Linked DNA regions of Homo sapiens: region 2 is linked to region 1. Evidence: promoter capture Hi-C in 16 types of primary human blood cells and fetal thymus (Javierre and others, 2016). All regions are on one chromosome and are shown on one strand. Each heading gives the region's core, a stretch centred on a gene start or on the middle of the fragment in contact. The rest is flanking DNA. Distances are from core to core; before and after follow the strand shown. Region 1 holds the start of ZRANB2 (zinc finger RANBP2-type containing 2). Region 2 overlaps LOC105378797 (a long non-coding RNA gene).

Region 1 (7,112 bases), core at 1,251-3,750:
TCTCTCTCTCTCTCTCTCTCTCTCTGGGCATTGGCCCAAGAGTGAGGCCCTAGGCTTGGGTATCTACAATACTAACAGAAGCTCTGTTTTTATGGACAAAGGAAGTAGAAAAGGAGGCCTTTGTGGTCTGAAGAGTGTAGAGGGAATCCACATTTTTTCTCTCTCTTTTCTGTCACTGCTTTGTCTCAGAATCTGCCCTAGTCAGCTGCTATGCCAGGCTGCTAAAACTCCAAGAGGAACCTCATATTTCTGGTGAGAGGACCTTGCGAGACAAAAGGAGAAGAATGTAAGAGGAGAGAGCTAGAGAAGAGGATCCCCTAATTCTATGTATGAACCTATACAAGTTCTGTGTTCACACCTAAACTGAACACGTGCAGAACAAACACAAAATAGCATAGCAAAACTGAATTTCAATTTAAACTACTGCTAACATCCCCAAATAATCCCTGAGTATTGTAGGTATAGGACACAGCAAAGCCTTTGAAAACCCAGCTGACATGGAACCAGTACTCATAGAAGATGAGACCGAACTTTTGACCTGAACCAAATTGGATCGATTGCCTTCTAAAACAAAAAAAAATCAACATTCCCTAAAGGCTTTTAACAGGACTCAGTCTATGCAACATAATGTTCAAAATGTCCTAGATAAAATCCACAATTACACAGTATAAAAGAACTGGAAAAATGTGACCAACTTGCAAGGGAAAATATAATCAACACCTGCTAACTCCTAGATGACCAAAATGTTATAATACAGATTTTAAAGCAACAATCATAACTAGAGAGTAGTTGAACAATTTCTCTCCTAAACATAATCATACTTGCATAAAGACATTTCAGTCAATGATGAACCACATATACAAAGGTGGTCCCATAAGATTACAATACCATATTTTTACTGTACCTTTATATTTAGATACACAAATACCACTGCGTTACAACTGCCTACAGTATTTAGTACAATAAGATGTACTAAATGCAGGTTTGTAGTCTAGGAGCAATAGGCTATACCATATAGCCTAGGTGTGTAGTAGGCTATACCTGCTAGGCCTGTGTAAGCACATTCTATGATGTTCACACAACAGCACAATTGCCGAAAGTGGCATTTCTCAGAACATATCCCTATCATTAAGTGAGGCATGACTGTATATGCTGTATTCTAAAAAAAATTAATGCATTTATATACCAGAATCTATGCATAAGAATGCTCATACTGGTGTTGTTTGTAATACCAAGCCTGAGAAACAGAAGGAATAAACTGTCACAAAACCACAAAACGGAATAGTATCAGTATACATCAGTGCAAATAAAAGAATTACACCTATACACTTCTACATGCAACTACCTAGGATTAATTTAGAAGCATAATGAACAAAAAAAGAGTACAGAATCAACTATGCTTACACAGCTCATAAAATTAAACATACATGTATGTTAGGTTTTGAAGGGAAGGCAAGGATTAAAGAAAGAGAGGGTGGCTTAACAACAAATACAGGATTTATGTCCAGCATAAGACCTACAGAGGTGGGAGACCAGCTTAATGCCAGTGCCCGTTGCTTCTTACAGGCTGGGGTGATTTATAGGCCTGGGTGGGAGTGGTCTGGGGGGCCATGGCCTGCTTCCTGGGAACATGTTGATAAGGTGTTCCCAGGACGAGGCGGCTCTGGCCCTTGTTCCAGTGGAATGTGGTACTTTCTCCCAGCAGAGTATAAGAGGCAGCCTGTTTCTCACGCCCGAACCCCGTGGAATGTTTCACTTTGACTAAGGTCTGCAAAATGGCAGGGGGGCTTACAAAAATGGTGCAGTTTGGACTAACAACGTACATAAATTTTTAAAAAGCAAAAGAATAAATCCCAAATATGGGAAAGTGTTATCTGTGGAAGAAAGTAATGGGATGGTATCAGAAAAGACACTGGTAATTTAAACAGTGTTGACAATGTCTCAGTTTTAAAATTACCAGCTGGTTCCCATGTATAAGTTGCTTACTTATCTGTTACACCTATTTATGTATATATAAAAATAGGTTTCCAAACGACATCCCATGTGTATGAAATAACAGAATTTTTATGCCTTATTAAAATAATTTCTCTAAACACTTGAAGAGCCCGAGCCGCCTCTTACCCTAAACGAACCCCACGCCCCTGAATTGATCAGTCACTTCCGCCTCCACCTTTCCAGCTCCACCTAAGGAAGCGGAAGTACTTTACTCTTGGGTCCTCCCACCTGTAGGGGGCTCTCCGAGGCTTCTAGTGCCACGAAGGCCTCCTGCCTGGGTTGTCCTTATGGCGCCTGTGAGTTTAGTTCTAGAAAAGATATTTGTATTTTAACTTTTCCATCTAACAAACAGTAGCACAGGCATCTTAGTCTGGACAACAACGTACAAGCTGAATTCCTGGCTAGTTCCCTCATTATCAAACCCTGACACAGTAGTAGGCGCGAGTCAGGCAGTGTGGGGACAGCCCCGAGTTGCCGAAAGTCCCCGGCCCGTTTTCCTCCTGTGAAGACATAGCTGCGGGTGGCTGTGCTGGTGGCGTTCAAGATGTCGACCAAGAATTTCCGAGTCAGTGACGGGGACTGGATTTGCCCTGACAAAAAGTGAGTTCAAGAAGGGTCCTGAATTGGGACGGAGTTTGTTAGTGGAAGCTTTCCGAGGTCCGTCCGGCATTTTCCTTTTTTATGATTTTCTGTGCCTTAAGACGGGTTGAGGCGGCGAACCGCCAGTTCCCTGGCGGGAAGAAGGCTCCCAATCTCCTCACGAGAGAGGTCTTTCCGGGAGCCTTTGTTCTAGATATGTCTTCAGCGTTTCCTCGACATTACCTCCGCAAGGTAGCCTCTCTTTTTAGAGTGCGAGATGGCCTACCTTTTTGCCCCCACCCCCCTCCCCCGCCCCGGCCAGGTTTTAGCGATAGGAAACCTCTCCAGTCAGGCCAGCTTGGTGTTGGATCTCCCCCACGTGACTTTTCTCTGCAGAACTTTACTCTTGTTCACGGAAAATATTGCTTTCTCGCACTCGTCCTTTTGCCTCTTATAGTTCACCTTGTTTTGTATTTTTACTCAAACTTTTCCTCCATACTATTTTCCCCTTTTCCGGAAGCTCTACCCTCTTCGGTTTGGGAAATTCTGACATTTTCTTTGTGGATCATTTCTCCACAAGAATTGGGCTTTTCGCCTCCTTAGAGCCGAAAAGGAGGGAAGAGGCCTGTGTTTTTGCCTACTCAGCCCTTAAGATGCCTGCAGCAGAGAAGCACGTGTGTTAGTGGCTCTGCTTTTTGACATTGTTGCCAAAGCCAGTACTCGACTAGATAGTTAATCAGATTTTTTTTGAAGGGTGCACAAATAGGTGTATCTATTCGGAAATAACATGGAAAATAATTTAATGTACAACTCATGTTCACATAAAAGCCTTTTATTTGTTGTACCTAAGTTAGCCACAAATAGGTTTTGATTGTAAAAAGCAAAAACTTTGAAATAAACCTGGGTTTAGTTAAAATTCTATTACTTATTTAACTGCTAAAAAAGGAATAGAATTTTTTTTTTAATGAAAACATGAAATAACATGGATAGGGTGTGTAAACAGTGACGTGTAGCAAATTCTAATTGGTGGCTATTGATAGTAATTTGATATTAAGATGACCTGAAGGAGTAGTTCAAGCCTAACAAATGATACTGAATAGAACCAAAGTTATATGTTATGGATAGTATTGCTCTGAGTGGTAAGACATTATTGAAAACGTTCAAAAGATTTAGAACAACAACTTCTGACTTTGTTGTTACCTGTAAAATAATGTGCTTTTGTCAGTGTCTTTAATGACAGCACACCCAGAGGTAGGACTCTCAATGAGAGTTCATTTCAACTCATTTACAAATATATGAATAGAATGTTGTTTGTACAATATGTTTAAATGCAGGATAAATTTTCAGAGTATATTTTCCATGCTTAATGGAGTTAAAAGGAATATTTTTAGGGGAAAAACTTAACCTAAATATTATTTAGAGTGTTTCACTTTAGTGTCATCCCATACTTCACATCTGTATTGTATTCTAGTATAATGCCTTAAAAATCAGCTTTTTAAAGTTTAAGCATTCCATGTTATCCAGAGCATTTAACATACTTTTACCAATATACACGTACACTTCTAAGGTCATGTGAGTGAACCAGTAATTCTTTAGGTTTGAGTTTGTTGAGTATAAGCATAAAGTCTTACTGTACTACATGTGTTGAGATTATTGGTTTTGGTGGTTGTGTCATTTTTTTCAGCGAAGTCTCAGAGGTTTGAGAAATGCCCTGTAAAACTCAGTTTTCTTACAATTATTGAATCTTTTTGTATTTTTAGTCAGTACAACCTATCATATTTGGTTCCTTAGCATCCTACCTACTGCATGTAAAAAGATAATTTCATTAAGATCCATGAAGCCCTCCTTGATTTATAAGTTTTTTTCCTCATTGGTCCACCGCTAGGGTTTAAAACTCCCTGGTAGCTTGTAAGTAATTAGTGAAGTGGAGTTAACTCTCACTTTCAACTTTGTAAAGGGATTATAACTAATGATATGTGCTAATGTGAGGACTTGAGGCAGAGATCCTAAGTAACTTAATCAAGATCACATGACTGGTAAATGGAGGATTGGGATATCTTATTCTGAATTTGTGGCTCCAATCAAGTATTTTTCCCCCAGTAAATTGTGTGGAGTTTTTTGTTGGTAACATTGACATTAACATGACTAAGATGGATTAGAAGTTATGAATTCCAGATATGTAGTGAGGACAAGTTAAAATGTAAAATTTTACAAATTTAAATTTTTATAAATGCTTTTTAATCTGTTTTTAGATGTGGAAATGTAAACTTTGCTAGAAGAACCAGCTGTAATCGATGTGGTCGGGGTAAGTATTTAAAGAAGATTCTATTTATACTGTATATGTATCATTTATTTATTTCTCCAGGTTCATATTGCATGATTTTTCTGTTTTCAGAGAAAACAACTGAGGCCAAGATGATGAAAGCTGGGGGCACTGAAATAGGAAAGACACTTGCAGAAAAGAGCCGAGGCCTATTTAGTGCTAATGACTGGCAATGTAAAACGTATGTTTTTTAAATTATTGTCTGCTCTTTCTTCCAAAATAATAGATCTGGCCACTACTTGTTTATATTACAGCTCTTATTAGTGACATTGACAAGCCAGGGTAACCTTTTAAATCCAAGGTATTGTTATTCAGTCTCATCTTTAAGTATAGTATAAAGAAGTTTTAAATTATTCTTTGCATTTTTTAATGGTAATAGTTGTCACTATGATGGATTATGTATACCAGTAAACAAATGCTTATGGTAAGCTCAAAACCAATCGGGGGGTGGTGGTACTTAAAAGTACTAAGGCCTATTACTTCCTTTATTGAAAAATCCCAATTTTTAGACTGTATAGTTAGTGTGAAATACACCACAAAACTCATTTTGCCTGTTTACAAAATAATGTTAGATTCATAAGTTGTGTGCCGTAAGTAATTAAGTCTAATTATAGGTAGGTTTCTTAATGATTTTTATTTTCAGGCTTAGATTTAATTCTTCATTGATTTTTCCAACTTCCATCTTTTCTCTATGCAGATGAATCCTATGTGTATGAAAGAGGTCTAAATCAAAAAAGTATTAAATAAATTTCTCTTTTTGTTTGTTTGTATTTTTTGTTTTTGAGATGAGGTCCCACTCAGTCACCCAGGCTGGAGTGCAGTGGGGCGATCTCAGTTCACTGTAACCTCTACCTCCCAGGCTCAAGCAATCCTCTCACTTCAGCCTCCTTAGTAACTGGGACCACAGGCCCATGCCACCATGCCTGGCTCATTTTTTTATATTTTTGGTAGAGACAGGGTTTTACCATGTTGCCCAGGATGGCCTCGAACACCTGAGCTCAAGCATTCTGCCTGCCTTGGCCTCCCAAAGTGCTGGGATTACAGGCGAGGCATGGGCCACTATTCCTGACCCTAGAGTCTTAAATAAATTTCTGATCCTCAGGATTATAAATTTGTATTGGAAAAGTTTCCAGCTACAGATTTGGTCACTGGATTTGGTATGCTTTGGAATTCAGTGCTTGAACTGAGACCTCAAAAAAATAAATTAATATTATTTATAGGGTATAACCATACTCTTTAAGGTATATTCAGAGACTGAGAAATTAGTGGAGCTGTTAATTTAAAGTTATATTTTTTCATAAGACATCAGAATTTCTATACAGGTTCAGTATCACTTACCTGAAATGTTTGTGGGTTCAGCATCCCTAATCTGAAAATCTGAAATGCTCCTGTGAGCGTTTCTGTTGAGTGTCATGTCCTCTCTCAAAAAGTTTTAGATTTTGGAACGTTTTTGGATTTTGGATTTGTGGATTAGTGATACTCGACCTGTGGTTATAATTTGTCATTTACTTCTCAAAATGACAGAGGCACTTTTCATACTATATAAATTTTGCTTCTCTGCTTAAATGGTTCAGTCCGTTGTTGGAACCCACATTTACTCTTCAGGCCACTGTACATTTTCTTTGTTTACATTACCACTTAATAAACATTTCTTTGACAGTGGTTTCATCCTAGTTTTTATTTTAAAATTGTAAAATATCTAAAAATTTGATATTCATCTATATTATAGCCTACTAATTTAGTATTTTTCACTTCTAAAGTTGCAGCAATGTGAATTGGGCCAGAAGATCAGAGTGTAATATGTGTAATACTCCAAAGTATGCTAAATTAGAAGAAAGAACAGGTATGATAAAACCACATTGTAACTAAATGATTTTTTTTAAAGCACTAAATATTGAAACGATAATTGTATCACCTTCGAGTAAGAGCCACAGTAAGTGAGGATTCTGTTTATTCTGCCCTGAATGTTTGTTACTGGGATTTTTTTCCCCCCATACACACATACAAATCTTTTGTTTCACAATTTATAAAATAACAGTGTTAGGGACCTTTATCCTAACAAGGAGGGACATAAGAATACTTTCAGAAATATTCTCCTCCTCTCCCTTTCACTGGTTTGCATGTTTGTTATTAGTAATGATATAATGATACCATTTTTAAATTCTTTTGATAGCCTGCTGTGACTTAAAGGGCAAAGCCACACCATTTAAAGTGT
Region 2 (7,112 bases), core at 1,750-4,249, 1.4 Mb before region 1:
GTACTGCCTAAATCCATCTACTTTGCTGTTGTGTACTTGTGCTATGTCCTTTTATTGTTCCTCTAGATTTGAACAGTCACTATCTGTTTGCCCTGTCATAGAAAAATCAACACATGCCATGTCTATTATACATCAATTATTTACAGAAGCCCCCTTCTACTTATCTTAATCAAGACCTAAAGAGTATAAAATTTCATCGTGACATCCTTCTTTTACAATATATAGATGATCTTCATTTAAACCCCAAAAGACAAAGATCTAAGATCATTTCCATCTATTTGTCAAAAGCATTAATCCAGAAGAGGCATAAAGCCTCTAAGGAGAAATTGCCATTCTACCAGTGAAAGTTTCTTTATCACATGATATATTCTAAGAAAGGAAATCTCTAATCTCTGACAGAATACACATATCTGGAATTTTTCTAGATCAACTCCAAAAGGCAAATCTAGAAATTTTTATGACTAGCTGGATATTACAGGTACTGTGTGCAATTTTTTTTTCTGAGTTTGCATATCATTTGTATAATTAATTCTTGAATCTTCTCTAGGGAAAAAAAAACATTAAAGTGTCTTTGGTAAGTTAAATTATGCCGATGGTCAACCACTACCAACTTTAGGATTGGCTAATTATTACGTATCCTTTTCCTTTTCACCATTAATACACTAGTCAGACACTGGATGGACACTGACAAAGCATATTTTCCTTAACCAAAAACTAGAGTAGCAGCTATATTAGATTTAGTTCTCGGGTCCCTATATAATTTGTTGGCTTTCCTTGCTGTGCAGACTGCCATTAGCAGAAAATAAGAAATTCTCAGTTAATTGGTTTACCTCCTATGAAATTTTGTTGCCTTCCCTTTTTATGTATCACTATGCAGTGTTATTATTCTTAACACAGCAATTCTCCTTCCTCTATCTAAGGAGGCATTTTTACTATACTTTAGGTAACTATCAAAGTCTTTTCTAAGCTTTTGAAAAATTCTTATAAACACCTTGGTGTAATTTTATTTGTTGATGCTACATACTTGAAAACAGATTCGGAATACATCAAACATGCTATGGTGGCTCATATCTATTAATTCAGCCCAAATGACTGAGTTGACCATTGTCACATGGGTTCACCACCCATTGTTAAAACAATTATAAGCACACCATTACCCTACTCTCTCACTACACCCAGGAGAAATCCTAAGCTTTAAAAGTTAGATCATTTTAAATTAGAAAACTAAAGTTTGGCTCAACATCCCCACACTCATTTTACCCACTCATTAATATTTTTATTCAGTTGAGAAATATTTCCTGAGCATCTACTTTATCATTGTTGAAAGCTTCAGAATATCTATGAAGGGGGACTTAGGTCTAAAGGACTATTTTTAAGTCCTTTGCTTGGCAAGAAGACTAGTCTTACATAGGCGCTCTGTTTATTTGGGGTGGCTCAAAGTGCATAAGAGCAACCATGGAGAAGATTATGGACGTATTAAATTTTACCTCCCTTTCACTCATCTTTTCCAACACTACATGCAGTACTGAACTAGGTTTAAAAAGGTGAATGCAACAGAAATATTCCAGGCCCATGTGGAGTTTTCTGTAGTGTTTTCAAGGCCCCTGGTTAGTTGCCACACCTGGAGACTTCCAAGATTTCCCTAATTCCCTTACCTGATATTGTCACCAAAGGGCTAGTCAATATGTAATCTTCAACCAATCTCTTAGCCTTACTTAATACACCATGCCCTATCACCAGGGTCTGTGTATAGCCACATTTATTTTTCCTTAAACTGCTCAGGATAAATTCTAGGAAAAATGCCAAGATTTGATGATCTCTTGCTGCTATCCCTGGAAATATGTTCCCTATAACACCCTGGCTGCTTTCCACCAAGCCTTTCCTAGGCTGAGAACCTACATTTCATGAAGATATGTTTATAAATGAAAATCTTCTACTACTCTGTAGACTTGTTACTGATTTTTAAACTTAATTTTAGCTAACAAGAAATATTACTCACTGTATGTTAGAAGCCAACTGCAGGAAAGTAATTAGAAAGTCGTTTTGACTTTAAAAAGTAGTACATTATTTTACAAATTCTAAATAAAATGGAATGAAGGAGCTTTTTATGACTCAAACAGTAGTTTAGAAAACTCTGCATGTGCTTAAATAATAGTTTACAAGTGTTTGATTTAAATCAGTGACAGAATCCAAACGAAGCCTTCATTTGAAACTGAGAGGTGAGATCTGAGGCCTAAAATATTTATTTATAAAATACATCTTAAAAATCATCTGATGAAAGGAGCTGAAGAACATCGTGAACTAAGCCTACAGTTGGATATATGACATCACAGAAACATAGTAGGAACTTATAAAAAGTAACTTAGTCATGTGGTAGGTGTAGTTTTAAAGGATCCCTATTAATTCTACTAGATAATAATGGGAAACATCTATTTATTTCAGCTACAAATCTATATAATCAGGAAACAGTTGTGGCTACATTTTGTTTTAGCCTGGCAGAGCACCTCTACCAAGTATCCCACACCATAGGAATATTTTTCCTGTCATTTACTGAGGGATTAAATTGCTAATCAGCTCAAATATGATCTCCATTCACCACCCAAAATGTTACTAAAATCATTATTGTAAGCACACATGTAGGAATTTAATGTTTTCCTTCGAAGGTTAAAACAAAAGAAGGTCTGGATGTTTCCCATTAAAAAAATGGAGGGACTTCAGTTATCTCAGAATATAAGACAGTAGAGACTATCAGTTTATTCTTTAGTCTTCTGGGACAGTCAGGCAAAATGTAAAGGGAATGAGGGATAGGAAAATTCTGTTTAATTGTGGTTTGGGAGTTCAATATGTAAAGTTATATGCCAAAGTGAGTAAAAGCATTTTAAACCAGTATAGTGTTTGATAGGAGTAAAATGCCTTATTTTTCCTACTTTTTCTGAGAGATCACTGAGCTGGATTTTCATAGTTTTTTTTCTAGTTCAGAATAAAATTCATATGTAAATCATTCTGATTAAAAAAAAACAAAAACAAAGAGATTAGAAAAGACCCATTTTTGCACCAGGGCATAGGATAACTCTGAGTATTTATACTTGATTCTATTTCTTCTCTTTTATTTCAAAACTAGGGAGTAGCTGCATTGGTATTTAGTCATCCAATTATATTGGACAAATAGTTTCGAGGAAATAGTTTAAAAAGTTCGTCATGTATAAATACATTTTCACCTACAGATATATTTACACAAATGCATATTTACAATTAATGATCCTCACTCTGCACATGACTAAATTCCACAGTTGCCTACAGTGTCTGCTTTCTCATTTACATACATATCTATATTCAATAATAAATCCATAAGAACCAATTTATAAACAATTTTTCTAGTAGATGCTACATATTTTTTTTAATGTATGCTGGACTATTATTGCCTTTCATTTGAGAAGGAAGGTTCCTTTTACCCTAGGAAAATGGGCTTCTTTAGGCTGAACATTATCATTATTTTCTATTCATTTAGATTTAACTGAAAGGGACTTTACACAAACACATGCCTGTTTGCTCCTAAAGATCACTGTCATATTATAATTCTAAAGAAATCTTCCCTCCCTGATGGATTAGTCCAGATGTGTCCCAAACCTGTCACAAACCAGAAAAGGTTAAAGATCACATAATTTCTTTGTTGGACCCTCTGTCAAGTCATGTTTACTGTCACCAAAAGGTTAGGCTAGAGAAGAAAAAATCAGGTTGATGAATGGTGCAGAATGCATGTCAATGAAATGAAAGAGATGGTGTGCACCTGTTTTCACCAGTGATAAGCCACCCAGATTTTGCCCTGTCACTTTTAGTGTTCAAAAGCACATTGCATTTAGATTTGGATCCTGAACACACTTAAGGCACTGGGACCACAGAAACAACTCATTAACATGTATCCTACCAGTTATTTGCAGATGTGGATTTTTTTTTTTGCTGAGGTCTATCTCACTTCACTAGATATTACCATCTCCAAACCTTTTTAAATGAACAGCCATAATTATGTTAGGCTCTGTTGTAAGAAAATGGTAGTATGAGGAAAAAGTAAAAAACAGAAACAATGAAATTTATTTTATTATTATTTACATATATAATAAATGTGCTCTAATATACAGATTTTCAAATACAGACCAAAATAGCTTTTCATCTCCTTATAACTTGGTTAAGAATTTTTGCAAAACAATGGAAAAAATACCCACGATATGCAAACACTTCTTTTGCACAGTCATAACTGTACAGCGAAATGATGAATTTTAAACTACAGGCCTCCAACTAAGCTCAGCCTATTCTTGCATGATAGAAGAGTAACAAGTTTATGATGCTGGTAATCTTCACAGTCTTAAAAAAATCTTACACTGTCTCAAAATAGTTGCAGGTAAATTGGGCCAGAGATAAAGTCTACTTTTTTCAAAATTTTAGAAGTGATTTGAATTCTGTCTGAATGACTAACCAGTACAACAATTAATAGTATAGTGTAGCAAAGTGCACTTCTTTCTTTCTGCCTTCTAAAGACATGTGGTTTCCTTTTATGTGTCTGTTCTGAAGGGCATTTTGTTTTTTCTCTTTACGCTCTTCCTGGAATTTCAAAGACTCTCCTTATGTCAAATATCATTGTATAGATAACACTCGGTTTCATTTACTTAAGCTTTGACCTTTCTCTTGAATTCACTAGACTGTATACTTTTCAAAAAGGTGTTGTATTTACCAAAGTACAGTACCTTTCACAGTTCCAGAGATAAGATGACCTCTGAGTGGGTGACAAATTTTGAGCCAGTGTTATGTTAAGAATTAAATGCAAATTGAAAAAGAAGGCATAGATATGATGAAAATTTCATCCAGGAACTGGGGATGGTTAGAACAGAGCAGGAATTTGGGCTGTCTGGGTATAGTGAGCAGGATTTCTAGTTATATATCAGCAGTCAGGAGAAGGATAGAGGAGGAACAGGGCCTTTCAAAGTTACTGCCGACAGGAGTGGAATGGGATTATCTCACGTCACCCAATCTTAGGACACGGAAAGCATAGATAATTTGTTGGATTGTGAGAAAACCGGATTTAATACTGAATGTGCACTTTCTTTCTTGTAGGCGAGGAGTGGTACTACGAAAATATTTAAGTGACTTACAATGTTTAAAAATACTACCAAGTATTATAGTGAAGTTTTAATACAGTATATTTGACTTGAATGCCAATTTAATTTCTTGCCACATGTAAGTTGTCCTCAAATTATAGTTGCCAGACCAGTAGCAGCAACATCACTTAGGAAATTGTGAGACATACAAATTGTCAGGCCTCACCACAGACCTGATCAGAAAGTCTAGGAGTACAACCTAGGAATCTATTTATTTAACAAGCTAATCTGGTGAATCTGATGCATGCTAAGGTCTAAACTGACTGCTATATACCATGCTGCAGCAAATATTCATTGACAGCCTCAAGATACTGAGGGTACAGAGATAAATAAAACAGGGGCTCTGCCCTCATACTGCAACATATGGGGATTCAAAGGAAGAAAATGCAAAATAATACTTTTAACAATTTCTTCCATTACAGAGTGGTTATGAAAGAGACAGAAGACAGGGAAATTCTGGGCAGAAGAGGGTGGGTCTGCAGCAAGGGCCCCACCCTCAGGCCTGGAACCTCGGCCCAAAGTGAGAACATACATTCCTATTTTCCCATTCAAATGTTGCCTTTTCCAAAACCACCCATGGCCTACCCTGAACCCCAAACCTGTGCCCATAAAAACCCAGGCTCTGCTGCCAGAGGGAGGAGAAGAAGAGGAGCACATGGACATTAAAGACTACAATTCGATGTCGCAGAGAAGCAGCTTGACTTCACAGGGATGGCTTAATGGCATAGCTTCAGAAAATTACCTCACAGCTCTGTTCCCTTTCCAGCTTCCCTTCCCTCTCACTCTGAAAGCCACTTTATTTGGCAATAAAAGCCCCTGCATTTACCATCTCCAGTTTGTTTGTGTGACCTCATTCTTCCTAGACACCAGATAAGAACTTGGGTGCAGGTGCAAAAGGCTGTCACGCTAACCTTCCATTGAGCTGTCAACACTTAAGCCACCTGCAGATGGCAAAGCTAAAAGAGCACTGACTGTAACATTGCTTCTGGGGCTTCAGGGATCACAGGCACCCCCCTAGATGCTGCTGTGGGGCCAGTATACAATTTGTTCCTGCCAGTGCCCAAAAGCGATCACCTGGGCTTCTGCGTCTGCTCCTCCTGTGAGGGGTTGAGTGCAGCAGGTTTGAGTGAGTGTAGTTCGCCCCTGCCAGTGTCCATACACTCCAGGTCCTGCCCGTGAAGGGGTCAGGGAAAATTTCTGGCTTCAGGTATTATGTACCAATCCTATTTGGAAAGTAATCCTATTGTTCCATTTGATAGATGAGGAAATATTTAATAGATGAGGAAGTGCTGTGACAAAATAAAAGTTACCCAAATTTATATAACTGGCTAATACTAGGAATCAGAATTTTTCCTCTTTGTTTCATACTAGAATGGGCTTAGGTAGTGATATGGTTTGGCTGTGTCCCCACCCAAATCTCATCTTGAATTGTAATTCCCACAATTCCCACATGTCATGGGAGGAACCCGGTGGGAGGTGATTAAATTATGGGGGCATGTCTTTCCTGCACTGTTCTTGTGATAGTGAATGGGCCTCATGAGATCCAATGGTTTTAAAAATGGGAGTTTCCCTGCACAAGCTCTCTTTGCCTGCTGCCCTCCACATAAGATATGATTTGCTTCTCCTTGCCTTCCACCATGATTTTGAGGCTTCCCAGGCCATGTGGAACTGTAAGTTCAATAAACCTCTTTCTTTTGTAAATTGTCCAGTTTTGGGTATGTCTTTATCAGCAACATGAAAATGGACTAACACAGTAAATTGGTACCAGCAGAGGGGTGCACTGCTGAAAAGATACGCAAAAATGTGGAAGTGACTTTGGAACTACGTAACAGGAAGATGTTGGAAAAATTTGGAGGGCTCAGAAGAAAATGTGGGAAAGTTGGGAATTTCCTAGAGACTGGTTGAATGGCTTTGACAAAAATGCTGATAATGATATGAACAATAAGGTCCAGGCTGAAGTAG

What was found. The method cuts DNA at HindIII sites, captures the fragments that hold promoters and counts their contacts. A CHiCAGO score of 5 or more calls a contact.
Region 2: a contact is called between a fragment that was not itself captured here and the fragment with the promoter of ZRANB2 in region 1, in 1 of 17 cell types (fetal thymus). The highest score is 8.2, in fetal thymus.

The regions. Positions count from the first base shown.
Region 1 is chr1:71,076,423-71,083,534 of GRCh38, reverse strand. ZRANB2 (zinc finger RANBP2-type containing 2) reads left to right here and starts at 2,500. Exons shown (of 10, transcript NM_203350.3): 1 at 2,500-2,595; 2 at 4,827-4,879; 3 at 4,970-5,078; 4 at 6,658-6,740. The coding sequence starts at 2,540. It overlaps ZRANB2-DT (ZRANB2 divergent transcript), which reads right to left and starts at 2,211. Exons shown (of 4, transcript NR_046217.1): 1 at 2,122-2,211. RefSeq lists an enhancer at 2,261-2,550. The HindIII fragment of the contact is 3,322 bases long and covers 1-2,645 here.
Region 2 is chr1:72,480,731-72,487,842 of GRCh38, reverse strand. The region is part of intron 1 of LOC105378797 (a long non-coding RNA gene); the gene reads right to left. Among named protein-coding and RNA genes, the nearest start is that of NEGR1, 200 kb to the right of the region's middle. The HindIII fragment of the contact is 3,339 bases long and covers 1,330-4,668 here.